2 separate regions of the Homo sapiens genome follow, and region 2 is linked to region 1. The links are contacts of gene promoters, found by promoter capture Hi-C in human tissues and cell types (Jung and others, 2019). All regions are on one chromosome and are shown on one strand. Each heading gives the region's core, a stretch centred on a gene start or on the middle of the fragment in contact. The rest is flanking DNA. Distances are from core to core; before and after follow the strand shown.

What was found. The method cuts DNA at HindIII sites, captures the fragments that hold promoters and counts their contacts. A contact is called where the count stands out against the background at its distance.
Region 2: a fragment that was not itself captured here is called in contact with the fragment with the promoter of CAPN10 in region 1 in 1 of the 25 tissues and cell types used here (spleen).

What each region holds. Positions count from the first base shown.
Region 1 is chr2:240,584,772-240,589,087 of GRCh38, reverse strand. It overlaps CAPN10 (calpain 10), which reads right to left and starts at 2,354. Exons shown (of 12, transcript NM_023083.4): 1 at 2,036-2,354. The coding sequence starts at 2,176. It overlaps CAPN10-DT (CAPN10 divergent transcript), which reads left to right and starts at 2,772. Exons shown (of 1, transcript NR_103792.1): 1 at 2,772-4,316. RefSeq lists a silencer at 2,088-2,317 and enhancers at 1,517-2,343, 2,282-2,576, 2,628-2,807, 3,798-4,167. The HindIII fragment of the contact is 9,208 bases long and covers 1-2,707 here.
Region 2 is chr2:239,392,665-239,396,771 of GRCh38, reverse strand. The region is part of intron 1 of HDAC4 (histone deacetylase 4); the gene reads left to right. Among named protein-coding and RNA genes, the nearest start is that of HDAC4, 6.3 kb to the left of the region's middle. The HindIII fragment of the contact is 5,599 bases long and covers 1-4,107 here.

The DNA.
Region 1 (4,316 bases), core at 1,105-3,604:
AAAACAGCTAAATGTTGGCTTCGAAAAGTTTCACTTTTTACTCATGCTGGTAAATCTCAAATGTGTCCTCCATCCTGCTGGAAATCTGTTTCTCTAGCAGGCTCCATTTCCCACACCCCCTAACTATCATATACCTTCCCCTTTCTCCCCGTCTACTCAAAACATCCACACTGCCCTTGCCCACCCCTCTGAGCTTCGACCTTGCCTCCTGCTTCTGGACCTGACCCTCTCTCCTGCCCTCAGAGCCTGGGCTCCTCTCACAACTCCTTCCCTTCCAGCTCCCCGGGCAGAATCCCACCCCCATGTTCTTTAAGACATTATCTCTCAGCACCATAGTCTCCTTCAGGCTTCTCTTCATTACAGCTCTTGAAAGAGCTGCCATGCCCACTACCTGCTTCCCATTCACTCTCCACACAGGCTCCTCTAGCTTCTGAGCCAATCATGGCCCCTAAACTGCCTCGATCAATGTCGCTGTCACCTCTATGTTATCAAACCCACTGGGCTTCTCTTGGTCCCAACTCTCTTCCCCAACTACTCAGCAGCATTCACAACAGCAGAACAGCCATCTGCTGCCCCTGAGGTGGTCCCCACTCAGCTTCTGTGAGGCCGCATGCTCCCCGGGTGTCCTCTCCCTCACTGCCTGCTGCTTCTCAAGTCTATCTGTCAGGGCACCTGCCTGACCCCAAGAAATGTTAGGGTTCCTCAAGGCTCAGCCCCAAGGCCCCCTTCTTCTTTACTGATACTCCCCCGAGACACTCTCCCAGGCTGTGGACTGTAAACCATCTAATATGCTCCGCCTCCCAGAAGAATGCCTCTAGCCTATCCCTGCTCCGTATCCACCTGCCTCCAGGACAGATCCACCTGCCTCCAGGACAGCTCCACCTGAAGACGTGAGAGCAAAGCCCAACTCTAGGTCACCCCCAGGCTCTGTCCCAGGACCACCATCCACCCACCTGTTCAGGCCAGAAACCCAGAAGGCATGTTGATCCCTCCACTATCCTCACCCTCTATTTCAATCAGTCACTATGGCCTCTCGATCCCCCCTGCAAGGTACGTCTCAAACCAATCTACTCCAAACCCACATCCTAACAGTCGTCAAGCTAATCTGAGCCCCTTCATCTTTCTCCAGGACCACTACAATGGACCCTTGCATTCTTGCCCCGACAACCCACTTCCCACCCAGCAGCAAGAGTGAGCTTGTAAAAACACACATCCAAGAGAACCACTCCTCTACCAAAACCCTCTAGTGGCCTCCAGCTGCACCTAAAATCAATCTTTTAACAAAATAAAACCCAAATTCCAATGACAAGGCTCTACATGGTCTGACCCTTGCCTCCTCCCAGGCCCTTCAGTGTTGTCCAAGGAAACCAGGTGGCCTGTCAAAGCCATCTCAGTCACGAGAGCCCAGAAGTTCCAGCTCTGTTCGAAGACTGGCGGCCATCAGTTGTCTCCGCTAAGACCGCATCCACTTAGGGCAAGGTTGCTCCCTGGGCAGTCTTATTCAGCAGATAAACCATTTCTAAAAATATGAACACAGCACTCGGCCAGGGCATCCCTTGGAGGTGCCATTTCTAGGTGTTACAACTGGAAAGGCAGGTGCACAAAATCCAAAACTGAAATTCTATCACGCTTTGCTTTGTGGGCTCGGCCTAGCCACTTCAGAGGGGCACGAGCGGCCCTCTCTGCGGGAGGAGCAGACACAAACGCTCTTCAGGGCGAAAGCAAACAGGTGGGGCGGGGTTTGGGGCTCTGTTAAAACGCCTCTCGCAGCGCTCTGAGCCTCCTGGATTGGAGCTCTCGCAGGCGGAGGCCACGACCTAGTTTAGCGTCCTTAGGGTAGCGCCGAGTCCTGCTCGTTCTGGGCGGGGGTATGAAGGAGGTACGAAAAGAGGGGGCCGGGCGCCCACTTCTGAGGAGAACAACGGCGGACCCTGCGTTCGGAGCTACCCTGGCCGCCCACCCCGCCCCGCTCCCTGCGAGGAGCGGAGATCTCAGAAACCAGAAACGGCGCCCACCGCACCCCACACGGCCCCACCTGGGGCCGCCTCCACGTGATGTCCTCGCGGAACTGGGCCAGCGGCGTAGACAAGTCGCAGAAGAGCGAGGAGTCCGCGGCGGGGAAGGCGGCGTCCCGGAACAGCTCCCTCGCCGGCGTCGCGCCCCGGCCCGCCCGCATCCTCGGCTCCGCGGGCTCCCATCTGCAGCCGGTTGCCTCGGGGTCGCAGCCCCGGAGAGAAGGCGAGTCAGCCGCCGCCGCCTCCGGCCCGCCCCGCCCGTTCCCCGCCCGGCCCAGCCCTCCAAGCCCGAGGGCCCCGCAGGTGCTGGACCAGGCCAGTACGCCGGCCCGCTAGTCTCCCATTGGTAACCAGGCGGCAGCCAACCGGGCGTGGGGTCTCGGGTCACGTGACAGGCGGCCCAATCGCACTCGCGCGACGGAAAGCGCCACGGACGTCGGAGGCCCAGGGGGCGGGGCTCCCGAGCTCCGCTCTTTCGTGGTCGGGCGGCGGACCGCACTGTATTTTTTCCTTCCGGGGGCGGCGGAGCCCAGGGCTATCCCGGCCTCCGCTCATACCCGGAGGGCCGGCAGGCGTTCAGTCCTCCAGCCGGTGAGGCTCGGGCCGGGGTGTCGGGACCGCCTGAACACGCGGGCTCTGGGAGCTTCAGGGACCAGGGAGCCACCTCGGCCGAGTTGCGTCGCAGACTACAGCTCCCAGCATGCGCCGCCGCTCCCAGCATGCACCTTCCTCCCGAAACGCGTCTCTGCTTCCGGCGCTCTGCTGCGGAGGCCGTGGCCGCGGGTAGTTGGGAGGAACCGAGATTTACGCTTGGTAAGGCAAGTTGCGAGCTGTCCGGCGCCGGTCGAGTTCCTGCCGCCGTCGTCGTCAGGCAGGGGAGAAGGGGGCCTCAACCCCTCTAGTGACAGCTGTTTGCTACCTAATAGGGCTTTTCATCCCACCGGGCCCCAGGGCCTTCGTTAGGAGCCCAGCAGGCTCAACTTCTTGCTGTGGTTCTGGAAAAGGGAGTGACCACCTGGCTCAACACCTCTCTCTGTGATGTGTTTGGGAGTTTTGGGAAATGAGACGGCTCCGAGGGAAGAGCTTGAGGGAGCGGCGTCGCACTCGTTCGACCTTCCCGGGCCTGGGCTTTGTTTCTAGGCATTTTAGGTTGAACGCTCTACATCTTAACTGGGGGCAGGGGAGGTGGCCAGAGCATCCCGCTGAGCGTTTTCCGATTCCCCAGATGGCCAGGCACCTGGTCCTGGTGGCTGGACAGTGACCCCGTGGACGCACATTTACAGCTATAGCCATTCAGTGCCGCGGGGAGGTGAGGATAGTGATCCTGGGACCTGCTCGAGGATTCACCCTTGCCCCAAGAACCTGTTCCATTCCCAGGAATGAAGGCGGTCAGGCAGGGGAGGAGAAGGGGGCCTCAACTCTTCTAGTGACAGCAGTTTGCCACCTAATAGAGCTTTTCAGATTTTGCCTCCTCAGGCCATTTTACTCAGCCTCGGACTATCAAGGATGGTCACATTGAAGCTGTTTTTCTGCAGTCAGGAGCGAAAAGTCCCGGCTGTTGAAGGAGAAACTGAATCTGGTTCAGGAGTCCCAGGTTCCTCCCTCTGAGAGGCCAGGTGGGGCCTGCGTGAGTAGCAGTTGTTCAGGTGGCAGGACACTGCTGTTTTCATCCCACCTGGCCCCAGGCCCCTGATTAGGGGCCCAGAGTGCTTATGTACTTGCCTCGGTCTGAGAAAGGGAGTGACTGCATAGCCCAACACCTGTGGGATGCCTCACTGCCCAGATGTTTCATCTCCGGGATGCTTCATTGCCCATTCAGCACCCTCTATGGTGCTGACTCTTCCGGAAGATGTTTCTGATTCCTTGCTAGGCTGGTGGTTGCACCATAGCTGAGAGGACTCAAGAAGAGCCTGGTCTCAGCTTCACCTAGGAGTCCCGGAGGAGTAAGAAACACGTATCTTTCCTGTTCTGGGCACATATGGGTGGGTAGCAGAGCTGAGGCTAGCTGAGGATCCCGACTCTCCTTTGGGAGCCTTTGTTGTGCCGCTCTCCCAGGCTGATCAGATCTGGAGAGCTAACAGCTTCCTGTGGCCACATCTGTGTCCAAGGCTGGGCCCATGCCTGTAGCCAGATTGCCAGGATCTGGAAGGGGCCAAGAGACAGCTGGTGCTGGGTAGGCAGCAGCCCTGTGTCAACCTGCCCCCACTATTACCCCATGCTGTGATTTGCATGTGGTCTGCCCCTGCCCAAAATGGTATTGAAATTTGAGCCTCAATGAGGCAGTGTTAGGAGGTGGTGCCT
Region 2 (4,107 bases), core at 986-3,485, 1.2 Mb after region 1:
GAAACCTTAAAGAAAATCTTGACAGATTTAATAGGATAAGAGTTTTTTAAAAAATCTCTTTGGCAAAAGACTCCGTCAGCCGGGCTAAGAGACGAGAGAGAAAATACATACCACATTATGCCTGTGTAAGCTTAACAGTCAATATATAAAGAGCTTTTACAGACCAATAAGGAGAGCATGAGATCACCATTGCAAGATGAGCAGAACGTATGAACATTGAATCATTGTGCCAGTGATGAAAGGTTAGCATTACTAATCAATTCAGTGTGAAGGAGATTCCCTTTATGCCTATCATATTGGCGAGTTTGATGATACCTGTTGCTGGTCATAATAATAATTTCTATTTTGTAAGGTTTTTGCAAAGTTTAAGTTAATGTATGGAAATTTCCTTGAATAGGGCCTGGCATGTAGTAAGCATGATATAAATGTTGGCTGTTATTTATTATCATTTGCTCTCTGGAGAGACCCATATGTATTATTATATAAAATATAATAGGGCTGGGCGAGGTACCTTATGCCTGTAATCCCAGAACTTTGGGAGGCCAAGGTGAGAGGATCACTTGAGCCCAGGAGTTCAAGACCAGCCTGGGCAACATAGTGAGACCCTCATCTCTACAAAAAAAAAAAAAAAATCAGGCATGACGTCGTGTGCCTGTAGTCCCCATTACTTGGGAGGCTGTGGCAGGAGAATCACGTGAGCCTGGAAAGTCAAGGTTGCAGTGAGGTGTGATTTTGCCACTGCACTTCAGCCTGAGTGACACAGCGAGACCCTGGGCTGTCCCCCCCAAAAAAGTTTATATATGTAATGTATAAACATAAAATAGTGATTACCGAATTGCTCTCTAGAAAAGTCTTAAGTGTCAAAATCTTAAATGCCATTCTCCTTGTCCCCACAGTTCTACATTTTGAAATCTATTCTAAGGAAAGAAGATAAGTGTGTAGATATCCAGACGTGTGTGGAGGTCGGGGCTGCATTATTTATAAAAGGAGTACTTGTTAAACCTGCTGGCATTTCTGCACTGTGGCATCCTCCATGTGTAGACAGGCAGAAGTGTGCAGTGTAAGAGGGAAAGGCGGGGTCTGGAGCAGTCCCCGGGCCACTCCTGGTTTTAAGTACATGGGTCTCTAAGGTAACCATCAGAGGTGAGGAGACGGGGTACACTTTTCTTTTATACATGGTGGTATTGTAGAGATTCTTTTGGTAAGCGTGTATTACTTTTTTACAGTAGTAATTTGAAAACATTTAGATATCTTCATTGGAAAGAAAAGTACTCTTTAAGTCCTTGGCAAGTTGATAAATATGCTTTGCAATAGAAGAATTTAGGGGCATTTGTTTTTCTAACTCACATGTAAGCTCTTCAAGGTGGGGACTGACCCTCGGGGTCTGAGCGGGCTCTGCTACAGCCCATCCTACAAACAGTCTCCCAGGTTTCCACCAGAAGCAGGTTTGTACCTCTCATTCCCTTGCTTGAAACCCTGGCATGACTTTCCTGTATTCTTAGGATCCTAAGGTCTCAGGGCCCTGGAAGGCCTGCCTGATCCTGGCCTCTGTTTTACCAGCCTCATCTGATAGCACTTGCTGTGTTTGTGGAGTTTCAGCTGCCACCTGCTTTACTTTCTAGCTCTCTCTAAGTCCCCTTTGACCTCGGGGCCTTTGCACACACTGTTCCCCTTCCTTGGAATGGCCTCCCTTTACCTTCCTCTTCTCCAGCCCCTCAGTTCATGCTCATCCTCTCATCCTTTGATCCCCTGTTAAACTTAGCCTAATAGCTTTTTTCCTCCTTTCTAACAGCATCCCATTGTGCAATTTCAGGAAGGAGCTCATTGTGACCTTAGTTGTTTAATGCCACCTTTTCTACTAGCTGGGGCTCTGTAGGATTGAGGGGCCCTGAGGGCCTCATGCCTGCTCTGTACCCTGTGCTTGGCAGTGTAGGTGCTCGAAGAATGAAAGAAAATGAATGAGTGAATGAATGAATGGATGAGTAGGTAGCCCAGTGAATGGCACAATGCGGGCCTTGGGTGGGAGAGCTGGGGTGAGGCCCCACCTCTGGCCTGGCCCCTCTGCGGGGTTCTTGCCAGTGCTCTGGAATTGCCTGTTTCCTGACACCCCCTGCCCCCATCTGGGAACTTCTTGGTCCTGATTTTGGAGATTACATGCTCCTAAGGAGATGTCATAAATGCAAGTGGAGGGAATTCTGTGATGCAGAAAGGAATGGGAGGGAGAAGGGCCTTCAACACAGCTGTCGAGTGGCAAATGCGACTGTTGTGCCAAGGCCAAGGCAGGTGTGTGCAGCTTGTTCTCCAGCCGCTTCGCCCAGGGCCCCGGCGTGTGAGGAGGCGAGTGGTGCTTTTATGAAGAAGTTTTTCTCTGCTTGTTTTAAATTAGAATTAATGACATTATTTAATCACTTCTTATTTAGCGTCATAATTTTAATATGATACATTAATATGTTTGTGTACATAAACATTTTGGAGTCTGCTCTGTTTAAAAATGTGAGTGTTGGGCTTTGTGAGTTTACTGTTGTTTATGAAGTACTCCGTCTGTGTGAGTCAAGTGCTTTTGCTGGATTGATGTTTAAGCTTGAAACAATAAATCAGTTCTTAGGACCTGAAAGTCTGAACCAGCATTCCAAGTGGGAGTATTGTTCAAGCGGTGATGGAATTGCATTTTCCCTTGGGAATGGCCCATCATCTGGTTTATGTGTTGCTATTTGCTGGAGCGGTTCTTTTTTAAACTGAGGAAGAGAAGTTTCTGTGGTATCTCCACTGGCCTCCCTGGTGGTGGGGTTGGGGGTGGAGGGGGGGTGGTCCTTGGGGGCCATGTTCCCTGAATATTTCTAATTGATTAGTTATTATTTTGCAAATACTCATTTTACACCCCAGCCCAAGTACTAGGTTTTACATGAGATGAGACTCAGTTGAACACATTCTCTGTGCCAGACGCAGTGGCCAGCCCCATGACCCCAGGCTTGATCAGGAAAACTGGCCTCTGCCCACAAGAGGCTTTGGTGTTGGTAGGGACAGAGGAGAAAAAGGAGCTAAACAGGCAGGTGCACACGGGTCACCATCCTGAGAACCAGGGCTGTGGCTGGAGGGCTTGCTTGGTAGGGAGAGCCGTGGTGCAGGAGCCAGGCCCAGATGAGGAGGAGGAAGGGGAGGCTGGGTGGGTGGGAATGGGGTGTGGTCCTTTTTAGCCAGAGCCAGAGTTTCGGGGCTGCATTGTGAAAAGGGCATTGTGGCCAGATGGTGGCCTGGTGACTGAGGTCTCTGAGGCCAGAGTGCGTGAGCCAGTGATGAGCCGGGCCAACTGGCAGGCTGCCTGGGTGGGGTGGAGGTGTGGTCTGCACAAAGGACTTCCTTGCGTTTTCATGTATGTGTAGTCTTCTTGCATTTAATGGAGAGTTTGCTTCTGTTCTTTCTATTTTGTGCACTGGTGCCTGGCTCCAGCTGGGTGATGGACCTGATCTCTCTTGTTCTAACTTTGTGGAGGCAGGCCCATTCAGATGCATCCCAAGGAGGCCTCCAGGTGGTCCATGGCGCGGCTAGGCCCTCCTTGGGGCACATGCTTGGTGGTGCTGTTGTGGGGACTTCTGCATGAAAAGCAAGGGCAGCTTCCAAAACAAGGGCAAGGTGAAGAAGGTGGCTCACACGCCGGGGGTCCCAGTCCTGTGGCTCTGAGACGGGCCGCATCCAGAAGGGAGGGGGTTCCTTCCTTCTAGCAGTGCTGGCGAGAGCTTCCTCTGTGCCTAGGTCCAGGATTCTGTAGAGTAGCTGTCAGGACTGAAGCCTGCCAGGAGTCTGTGTAGAAACCGTGCTGGAGGGGACCCGCTGGGGGACCCGAGCTGGCACCCCCAGTGCCACCGGTTTACACACCAGAATTCCGGGTCTGAGGCTGAGCCCAGCCTGGCCCATCTGCAGGGGCCTTGCTGGCTGGCACCGTGCCATGTAAGTCAAGTGGCAGAAAGTGGGCCCCCAGCAGGTCAGCAGAGCGTGGCCAAGGGCCCCTGAGCCTCAGTCCTCCCTGTGGCCTGGGGCTAATCCCAGCTGGCTATTGAGGACTTACCCACCCCCAGGACTCATGTCCGAGCCCCGTAAGCTCAGGGGTTA